Linked DNA regions of Homo sapiens: region 1 is linked to region 2. Evidence: promoter capture Hi-C in human tissues and cell types (Jung and others, 2019). All regions are on one chromosome and are shown on one strand. Each heading gives the region's core, a stretch centred on a gene start or on the middle of the fragment in contact. The rest is flanking DNA. Distances are from core to core; before and after follow the strand shown.

Region 1 (4,776 bases), core at 1,313-3,812, 670 kb after region 2:
TTTATCTTTCTCCCTCTCTGGGGGAGGGGATTGGGAGTAGGCCCCCTCCACGTAGGTCTTCACCTCTGCCCTCCTTCTCTAGAAGTCGAGGACTCAATCCTTGGCCCGTGGGGAAAGTGGCGGTGTCTCTGCGACCTGGGCAAGCAGGAGCGCAGCCGCGAGGTAGTGGGCACAGCGCCGGGCCCGGTTTTCATGGACCCGGAGAAGCTGATCCAGTTACGGCCCTGCCGGCAACGGGATTGTCCATCCTGCAAGCCCTTCGACTGCGACTGGAGGCTCTGAGCCCGGGTGAGAGAGCAGGGCCGGGGCAAGTTGCGGGGCCCAGGGTGGGCGCGGAGGGAGGATGTGCGGTGCGGGGCGGGTATGAAGCGAGTTTGAGGAAGGGAGAACTGGGGCTCCAAGTCTTGAGTGACTTGAGGCTGATTTGGTTAGGGGGAAGCTGAGTCAGGAGCCGTGAGCCCCGCTGATATCTAGGGAGAAAAGGAGAAAAGTGGAGGGGGCGCCGGGCGCCGGGGCTCACGCCTGTAATTCCAGCATTTTGGGAGGCCGAGGCAGGCGGATCTCTTGAGTCCTGGAGTTCAAGATTAGTCTGGGCAATATCGTTGAGATCACCTCTCCATAAAAATTTTTAAAATTAGGCCGGGCGCGGTGGCTCACGCCCGCAATCCCAGCACTTTGGGAGGCCAAGGCAGGCGGATCACAAGGTCAGGAGATCGAGACCATCCTGGCTAAAACGGTGAAACCCCGTCTCTACTAAAAATATAAAAAATTAGCTGGGCGCGGTGGCGGGCGCCTGTAGTCCCAGCTACTCGGGAGGCTGAGGCAGGAGAATGGCATGAACCCGGGAGGCGGAGCCTGCAGTGAGCCGAGATCGCGCCACTGCACTCCAGCCTGGGCGACAGAGCGAGACTCTGTCTCAAAAAAAACCAACCAAACAAACAAACAAACAAAAACATTTAAGTTAGATGAGCGTGGCGGCACATGCCTGTGGTCCCAGCTACTCGGTACGATGGGGAGGAAGGATCGCTTGAGCCTGGGAGGCAAAGGTTACAATAAGCCGAGATCGCTACACTGCTATCCAGCCTGGGCAACAGAGTAACATCCTGTCTCAAAAAAAAAAAAAAAAAAAAAAAAAAAAAAAAAGTGGAGGGGGAGGCGAAGAGGAGTAAAAGGAGATAAAGAGACAATGAACTAGGACCCTGAGGAAGGGGCATGAGCCTGGTAAGGGGCGGGAACCCACAGGCAGAGGACATGAGCCCCAGTGAGCCCAGGGAATAGAAGTGGTGGATGCCAGGCACTGTGGCTGGCTCAGGCTTGTAATCCCAACACTTTGGGAGGCTGAGGCGACCGGATCGCTTGAGCCCAGGAGTTTGAAGCCAGCCTGGGCAACATAATGAGACCCCGTCTCTACAAAAAATACCAAAAATAGTCGGGCATGGTGGTGTGGTGTGCACCTGTAGTCCAGCTGCTTGGGAGACTGAGGTGGGAGGATCGCGTCAGCCCAGGAGGTGGAGGTTGCAGTGAGCCAAGATCGCGCCACTGCACTCCAGCCTGGACAACAGAGAGAGACCCTGTCTAAAAAAAAAAGAAGGCCGGGTGCGGTGGCTCACGCCTGCAATCCCAACACTTTGGGAGGCCGAGGCGGGCGGATCACAAGGTCAGGAAATCGAGACCAACCTGGCTAACACGGTGAAACCCCATCTCTACTAAAAAGTACAAAAAATTAGCCGGGTGTGGTGGCGGGCGCCTGTAGTCCCAGCTATTCGGGAGACTGAGGCAGGAGAATGGCGTGAACCCGGGACGCGGAGCTTGCAGTGAGCGGAGATGGCGCCATTGCACTCCAGCCTGGGCGACAAGAGCGAGACTCTGTCTCAAAAAAAAAAAAAAGAAAAAAAAAAAGTGGGTCGAGGGGTGGGGGTGGGGACATTCATTCTAAGTTGGGAGGAATGAGCTTCTATAGGGAGCAGAGACCCTGAGCAGGAGTCCACCGAGGTCTGTGATCTCCAACGGGGGTGGGGAAGGCTTGGCCTGAATGAGACAGAGGTTAGGAAGCACAGATCTTGCACGGAGTGGAGGTGGGCCGAAGGGAGCAACCAAGAGAGGGAGTTTGGGGACTCCAAATCCAAAAGCCTGGGTTTAGTGGAAGCGGGGCTACCTGGTCCAGGGGACTTAGAATGTGTACAGAAGCAGGGACCGCAAGTACAGGGCCTGAATCCAAGTGGCAGTTGGGGACCCAGTGATGCGGTGACCCGTGTCCTGGGAGTGGGGTGATATTTGACTCTCTAGTTCCCCGTTAGGCTGGGTCTTCGAAGCTACGTCTCAGTTTCCCTCTTATTTCCCCCTCTTCCCACCGGGCCACGCAGGCGGGGCCCCAGAGACCGTGAAGCAGAGCTTGCAAAGTGACCCCGTCCACCGAATTCCCCAAGCTGAGTGTTCGGCCATAGCCCTTCGGGACTACAATTCCCAGGAGGGCGCACGGCAGCGACGTCGGCGTCGGCTGCGTAAGCGTCCACGGCGGCGGGAGCGCCAGGGGCGTGTTCTGCCCGCGGATTGGCCGGAAGCAGGCGCCGCTTCGAGGCCCGCGGAAAACGCGCGCCGAGACCCGCTCCTGCAGTATTAGTTCTTGCAGCTGGTGGTGGCGGCTGAGGCGGCATGGATCTCAGCGAGCTGGAGAGAGACAATACAGGCCGCTGTCGCCTGAGTTCGCCTGTGCCCGCGGTGTGCCGCAAGGAGCCTTGCGTCCTGGGCGTCGATGAGGCGGGCAGGGGCCCCGTGCTGGGTGCGCCCCTAGGGCCAGGGAGGGGAGGGGCGTGGTACGGAGGATGCGGGAAACGGGAGTCGGGATTGCACTGCACCAAGGGAGGGGATGTGGTCGTGGTGATGGCACCTAAAGAAGCAGTGATGATAGAACAGGGATGAATGGCAACTTTCACGGGCTCAGTGATTGGACCCCGGCTGCCAGAAAACTGACACCCCTTCTCCCCAGGCCCCATGGTCTACGCCATCTGTTATTGTCCCCTGCCTCGCCTGGCAGATCTGGAGGCGCTGAAAGTGGCAGGTGAGCCCGAGGTGTGCGTCTGGGGAAGGGATTCCTGGGTATGTGCAGGGGCAGGTGAGAACTGAAAGGGGAGGGCAGGAACTGGGAGAACCAGCTGTTCCCCTTCTCTTCCAAACCTCCTCCCAGACTCAAAGACCCTATTGGAGAGCGAGCGGGAAAGGCTGTTTGCGAAAATGGAGGACACGGACTTTGTCGGCTGGGCGCTGGATGTGCTGTCTCCAAACCTCATCTCTACCAGCATGCTTGGGCGGTGAGGGGTCCCCGGGAGGGGCAGCCAGCATGGGCTGACCAAGCTTTGTTCCTAGAATGAGATTAACTGGGCTCTGTTCCCCACCACAGGGTCAAATACAACCTGAACTCCCTGTCACATGATACAGCCACTGGGCTTATACAGTATGCATTGGACCAGGGCGTGAACGTCACCCAGGTGAGTTAACTGTAAGTTGTCCCCATTTGGTCATCTCAGGATAAAATGGGGACAAAACAGGAGTTCGAGACTGCAGTGAGCCATGATCATGCCACAGCACTCCATCCTGGGTGACAAAGGAAGCCCCCCAACTCAAAAATGGAGGCAGGGCGCAGTGGCTCACGCCTATAATCGCAGCACTTTGGGAAGCCGCGGCGGGTAGATCACCGGAGGTCAAGAGTTCGAGACCAGCCTGACCAACATGGTGAAACCCCGTCTCTACTAAAAATACAAAAATTAGCTGGACGTGGTGGCAGGCGCCTGTAATCCTAGCTACTCAGGAGGCTGAGACAGGAGAATCGCTTGAACCCAGGAGGCAGAAGTTGCAGTGAGCCAAGATTGTGCCATTGCACTCCAACCCGGGCAACAGAGCAAGACCCTGTCTCAAAAAAATAAAAAATAAAAAATAAACTAAAAATGGGAGACCAGGCGCAGTGGCTCACGGCTGTAATCCCAGCGTTTCAGGAGGCTGAGGCAGGCAGATCACCTGAGGTCAGGAGTTGAAGACCATCCTGGCCAACATGGTGAAACCTCATCTCTACTGAAAATACAAAAAATTAGCCCAGCATGGTGGCGGGTGCCTGTAATCCCACCTATTGGTGAGGCCGAGGCAGAAGAATTGCTCGAACCCGGGAGGCGGAGGTTGCAGTGAGGTGAGATCGCGCCATTGCACTCCAGCCTGGGGGACAGAGCGAAAAATAAAAATAAAAATAAAATAAAAAATAAATGTGGGCAAAAATGTGCAGTGTGCAGATTCAGCATCAGATACGTCTGGAGTGCCTCGGGCATATTCATTGCTACTGTTGATTTCGTGCTCCTGTTTCTGCCCTAAATGTGTGCCACACTGACGACCACAGTGTAGCCCCTAGTCCCGTCTCCATCTAATCTCTCCCTCATCCTAAAGGCTCAGTCTCCAGAACAAATCCTACATTGTCTACCTGTCACCTCTGTCCTAGCCCAGGACACCCCCCACTCCCTGGACACCTGCTGAGTGTCGTCTCTCGTCCCTCACCCTCCTATCCCCTCCAATCTGTTCCCCAAGCAGCAACAGAAGGTAGTCTTTTTGAAATGCACATCTCGACATTTAGTTTTCCGATCACAGTGGAAATTAAATCAGGAAAATTCACAGTCGAGTGGGGCAGAATTACATTAAATTACCAGAGAAAAACATAAATCAGCATTGCCTCGAATGCTCTCAATGAAAGAATGGACCGTTCTGAGAGAATAACAAGGCAAAATAACCTTGACGTAG
Region 2 (5,478 bases), core at 936-3,435:
AACAGGCCAGGCACGGTGGCTCACGCCTGTAAAATTCCAGCACTTTGGGAGGCTGAGGCAGGCAGATCATTTGAGCTCAGGAGTTCGAGACCAGCCTGACCAACATGGTGAAACCCCATCTCTACTTAAAATACATGGGGTATGGTGGCGCATACCTGTAAACCCAGCTACTCGGGAGACTGAGGGCAGGAGAATCACCTGAACCTGGGAGGCGGAGGTTGCAGTGAGCCAAGACCACGCCACTTCAATTCAGCCTGGGTTACAAAGAGAGACTTTCTCTCAAAAAAAAAAAAAAAAAAGGAAACAACCCAAAGACATTCTGAGATGGTGTCTGTGCCTTACGAAGATAAGAGGAGAGGAACAGAGGTTTTTCACTGGAGTATCAAGTGGTTATTCTCTATTCTATGTGAAATGTTCAGAAACAGAACACAAATATTTTAAAAAAAGTTATCCATGACCTTGTGAAAAGATGATAAACCACTAAAATACTGCATCTATGTGAAAGAAAGGATGAAGAAATATACTCTACAATAAAGAAAGTTGATACAGGAGGCTGAGGCAGGAGAATCACTTGAACCCGGGAGGCAGAGGTTGCAATGAGCCAAGATCATGCCATTGCATTCCAGCCTGGGCAACAAGAGCGAAACTCCGTCTCAAAAAAAAAAGAAAGTTGATAATACTGTGAGTTGGAGAAGGGGAGTTAATGTTTGGAGATGCGGAAAAGTAATTGAAAATTTAAGATGTTACTGCAAACTGCTGAAGAGTTAGGGCGGGGTAGCAGGGTGGAGGATTTGAGACCCATACATTAGGAAAATGCAGGAGGAAGCCAGTCCCTATAGACAGTGTGAAAAAATTTAAAGCAGCAGCAATTAGACTGAAGTGTGTTTAGTGCTATAAGAAACTACCTAAGGACACCAAAATCAAACTCAAATTGAGGCAGGAAAATAGGGTCTGGACGCAGGGAACATAAGGCCTATTCAAACTTCAGCTATGAAAGGAAATACCTACTCCATAGGGCGTAAGCCAAGTAAATGATTTTATAACCTTACTTCATCCTCTCCTTTTACATAGAGTATACCCCAAGTAACCAATGGAATCCTCCAGGGGGTATTTAAACTCCCAAAAATTCTGTAACGGGGCCTTTGAGCCCCTGTGCTCAGCCCCGCTTGCACACTGTGGAGTGTTAAATCCCTTCATTCCTTCCTTGCTTTGTGCGTTTTGTCCAATTCTTTGTTCAAGACGCCAAGAACCTGGACCCCCTCCACCGTTAACAAAATGCAATTCTTCTTAAAACTTTCTGGTACCAAAACCACAAATCATGACTGGGCGTTTCTCACTCATGAATCGCTGTTTGCTCAAACTCTTTAAATTTTTTTTTTTTTTTGAGATGGAATCTCGCTCTGTCCCCTAGGTTGGAGTGCAGTGGCGTGATCTCGGCTCACTGCAACCTTCGTCTCCTGGGGTCATGCGATTCTCCTGCTTCAGCCTCCTGAGTAGCGGGGACTACAGGCGCATGCCACCATGCCCGGCTAATTTTTTGTATTTTTAGTAGAGACGGGGTTTCACTGTGTTAGCCTGGATGGTCTCGATCTCCTGACTTCGTGATCCGCAAGCCTCGGCCTCCCAAAGTGCTGGGATTACAAGCATGGTCCACCGCGCCCGGCCCAAACTCTTTAACAGAAAAAAAAATCCGCAGGATTCCCCCATGACCCTCCCGTGGTCCCCGCAAAATCTGAAGAGACGCGGGGCTGCAGGCGCGGAGCTGCCCAGAGAGGGCTCCAGGGTCGGGGCCCACAGTCGCCCGCGCAGGAACAGAACAGGAGGACGCCCGGGGTCCCGGCTGCCGGCCCAGCCGCACCCTGCGGCCGAGGGGACGCAGGGACGAGCTGAGACAGAGGGATTCGGGTCCCAGATCCAGGAGGCGCGGCGAGGAGGCCCAGATCCCACCACAGCCGCTTCCGGCCGGTTCCACCCAGCCCCTCCCCCGTCTGGGGACTCCGGCCCCATACACTCACCATTTCCCGGCTTCTGGGTGTCCCGGTGTCCTCTCTAGGGCTCCCGTGAATAGTGCGGGTCACGGTGCAGGCGGCAGAGCGACAGAAGTTGTGGCAGAGGGACCCGGGGCCTCTCGGAGTAGGAAATCTGGTATCCCGACAACAACCTGCATAGCAACAAAAGTAGAAGCTGGAATGGGCCTCCTCCTTCCGGACGGACCGTTGGCCGGGCTCCGCCCCGGCGCTTCTGATTGGACAAGGTACAAGGCCCCGCCCCCTCAGAACTGAGTGACGGCAGAAGCCCTGGGTAACGAGCCCTGCAAAGCCGGACTGATCGGTTCTAGCCACAGCTTCTCTCTAAGGGACAACTCCTTCCCTGAGCCCTGGTCATTGGATATTTTCTTTTCAGCCAAATTTGCTCCTGATTTTTACACAGGGCACTATCTTCTTCCTCATTCAATGGGCTGTCAGTGCTTCTTCGTCCTGCACAGGGTTGTAAGTGTGTGCAGGGAATTCCAGACTGAGTGTCCAATGGAGCGATGTGCTGACCTCAGAGCAGGAAGGGGAGCCCAGATCAGGCCAGGCACGACTGCACCAAGAAGGAGAGGCAGTTGTCCTTCAGGGGCCCGGAATTAGGGATGAGACATGGCCAAGGCTTTCACACATCTCACCCCACCTCACAGTGTGGAAACTCTCCCTCCTTCCAGACCTTCATCTTCATCGGCAGAAAACTCTCACTTGGTGATTTTAAGCTTCTGACCTAAATAAACTGTCAACTGCATAAGCCCCTTCTCCAGGAGAGGTCCCAAACAGTTATTTCCCTGAACTTGATCTTTACGGATTTTCTTCAGATATGCAAATTACAGTCTGACCCCAGGGACTCTATGCATGTCAAACCCAAAACACTGCTCCCGAAAACCGCCCCAGATTCCAGATGTACAGCCGCAGAAAGGACAGAACTCCTGAAGTGCACCTGCACGTGGGTCTCCTGCTTTCCAGGGCGCTGCAGCATGTCAGAACCCACACTCTTTCTGGATCTGCTCTGAGCAGCTGCAAGCCACCTGCAGGGGAGGGCGGCTGCCCAGGAAGCACCCAGAACTCCACTTCACTCCTTGGCAGGATCCATACTAGCCTCAGCGTCCCGTCCCTGGCGTCGGTCTCTGCTGCCCCCTGCAGGTTATTCACCTGCTTCTCACATCATTCATCAGTTTCCATGAGACAAACATCCTCAATCCCACTGCGAGAATAACACACGAGCAAAGCTCTCCTCCAGTGTGTATGTATAAAGTCGAGGAGGAAGTGTCCAAGATTATTTAACTGCATGAAAGTGAGGCAGTAGTGGCTGGGCGCTGTGGCTCAAGCCTGTAATCCCAGCACTTTGGGAGGGCGAGGTGGCTGGATCACCTGAGATCAGGAGTTGGAGACCAGCGTGACCAACATGGTGAAATCCCGTCTCTACTAAAAATACAAAAATTAGCCGGGTGTGGTAGAGCCCACCTGTAATCCCAGCTACTCGGGAGACTGAGGCAGAAGAATCGTTTGTATCAAAGAGGCTGAGGTTGCAGAGAGCCGAGATTGCACCACTGCACTACAGCCTGGGCAATAGAGCGAGACTCTGTCTCAAAACAAAACAAAAAAACACACAAATGTTTAGTCATGTTACTTATTTCTGGTTTCCAGCCTGACTTTATAACATTCCTGACTCTGGGACTCTCCAGCTCTCCAGAATTATGCTTTGAAGAAAAAACAAGATAGAGCACAGGGCCCACATGTCTCTTATAAACTGTGAACCAAAATATTACATAGCAGCCATCTGTCAGAACTGCTTCCAGGCTATTGTCCTCAGTCACAATCCTAAATCAAACTCACTTTCTTTAACAAATTTAATTTTTTTTCTTCAGTCCACATGAGTAATCTAAAAGAAACACATAGACAGAAGAATCTCTTTATTATCATCTTTCTACCAAGTCAACATCAAGCATTAAAAAAATGTAAAACAAAGTGAAAACCATCCTTCTCTGATTCATCGTAGACCCAGAATCTGCCAGTCACCAACACCTATCTTCATTTTCTCTATTACGGCCAACTTTTATCTAAGAGATATCATAGGGGCATATTTAATAGAGTTTGTCATTTTGTGTTTTATGAATTTTAGAGGTTTTTTTGTTTTGTTTTGTTTTGAACTTTTATTTGCATTTTCTTTTGGCTGAATTTGTTTGTCTCTTAAGTTTATGTTTCTTCTGGGGTATCTTTTTCTTCCGTGCATCCTCCTTTTCTGCTTTTGGAACAAGGTGTTTCTTTTCACTAAGCATCATCTGGATGTGGCAGGGGAGTTTGTGGATGGGTTCATCTGCCCATGAGTTCTGTAAGTCAGGTGGTACATTATGGGTGCCTTTTCCCTGGATGTGCTCAATAACCAGGGAATCTACATCTATACCCTTAAGTTCAGCATAACTCTGCACTTGTAAGCAAATTTCAGTACCTTTTCGGGGCCACTGATGGTGAGTCCAGCCCCAATGTCTGTCTTGCGTACAGCGACCAACTCCACTTTCTAAGACTGAAATGGTACACATAATTTCTGTAAAAGAAAATATTTCAGATACTTGGTGGCTTTTCATATAGGCATACCTGTGATGGCCTGAGCACCTTCACAGTTTACAGTGAACATGAGGGTTTCATCCTTCTAACATGCACGACTTCGTGGGATTTTCTGGGTCATAGTGAATAATGTTCATAGATCAACTCAGGCCACACAAGAGGACAGGTTTTCTTTGGTCTTTAAAAGGAACTGATTAAAGAAAAAAAAAAAAAAAAGGTGGAAGCCAGGCACAGCAGCTGGTACCTGTAGTGACAGCTACTTGGCAGGCTGAGGTAGAAGGATTGTGAGCCCAGGAATATGAAGCTCTCATGCACTAAGATCACACTTGTGAATATCACTGCACTCCAGCCGGGTCCAAACAGCAAGACCAACTCTCTAAAAAAAAATTACATAATAAAATAATTTAAAAAAAAGTTTGTGGTTAGAAAAAAGTTTTTATTTAAGACATTCATTAAAGAAAAAAGTACTTTGAGAAGAGATTAGGGCCAGGCGTGGTGCCTATAATCCCAGCACTTTGGGAGCCCAAGGTGGCAGATCATGAGGTCAAGAGATTGAGACCATCCTGGCCAACATGGTGAAACCCCATCTCTACTAAAAATACAAAAATTAGCTGGGCGTGGTGGCGCATGCCTGTAGTCCCAGCTACTCAGGAGGCTGAGGCAGGAGAATCTCTTGAACCTGGGAGGCGGAGGTTGCAGTGAGCCAAGATTGCACCACTGCACTCCAGCCTGGCCACAGAACAAGACTCTGTCTCAAAAAAAAAAAAAGATATTAGGCCTGGCGCAGTAGCTCACACCTGTAAGCCCAGCATTTTGGGAGGCTGAGGCAGGTGGGTCACTTGAGGTCAGGAGTTCAAGACCAGCTTGGCCAACATGGAGAAACCCG

What was found. The method cuts DNA at HindIII sites, captures the fragments that hold promoters and counts their contacts. A contact is called where the count stands out against the background at its distance.
Region 1: the fragment with the promoter of RNASEH2A here is called in contact with the fragment with the promoter of ZNF20 in region 2 in 1 of the 25 tissues and cell types used here (lymphoblastoid cells).

The regions. Positions count from the first base shown.
Region 1 is chr19:12,804,022-12,808,797 of GRCh38, forward strand. RNASEH2A (ribonuclease H2 subunit A) reads left to right here and starts at 2,563. Exons shown (of 8, transcript NM_006397.3): 1 at 2,563-2,779; 2 at 2,987-3,058; 3 at 3,185-3,308; 4 at 3,398-3,485. The coding sequence starts at 2,653. It overlaps THSD8 (thrombospondin type 1 domain containing 8), which reads left to right. Exons shown (of 2, transcript NM_001386800.1): 2 at 83-368. The coding sequence ends at 282. RefSeq lists a cis regulatory region at 1,810-2,842 and enhancers at 2,287-2,416, 2,617-2,666. The HindIII fragment of the contact is 8,217 bases long and covers 1-4,776 here.
Region 2 is chr19:12,138,165-12,143,642 of GRCh38, forward strand. It overlaps ZNF20 (zinc finger protein 20), which reads right to left and starts at 2,186. Exons shown (of 4, transcript NM_021143.4): 1 at 2,016-2,186. The coding sequence starts at 2,018. ZNF625-ZNF20 (ZNF625-ZNF20 readthrough (NMD candidate)) reads right to left here. Exons shown (of 8, transcript NR_037802.1): 4 at 4,477-4,551; 5 at 2,016-2,161. It also overlaps the pseudogene RPL17P47. RefSeq lists silencers at 1-57, 1,763-1,972. The HindIII fragment of the contact is 9,607 bases long and covers 1-4,568 here.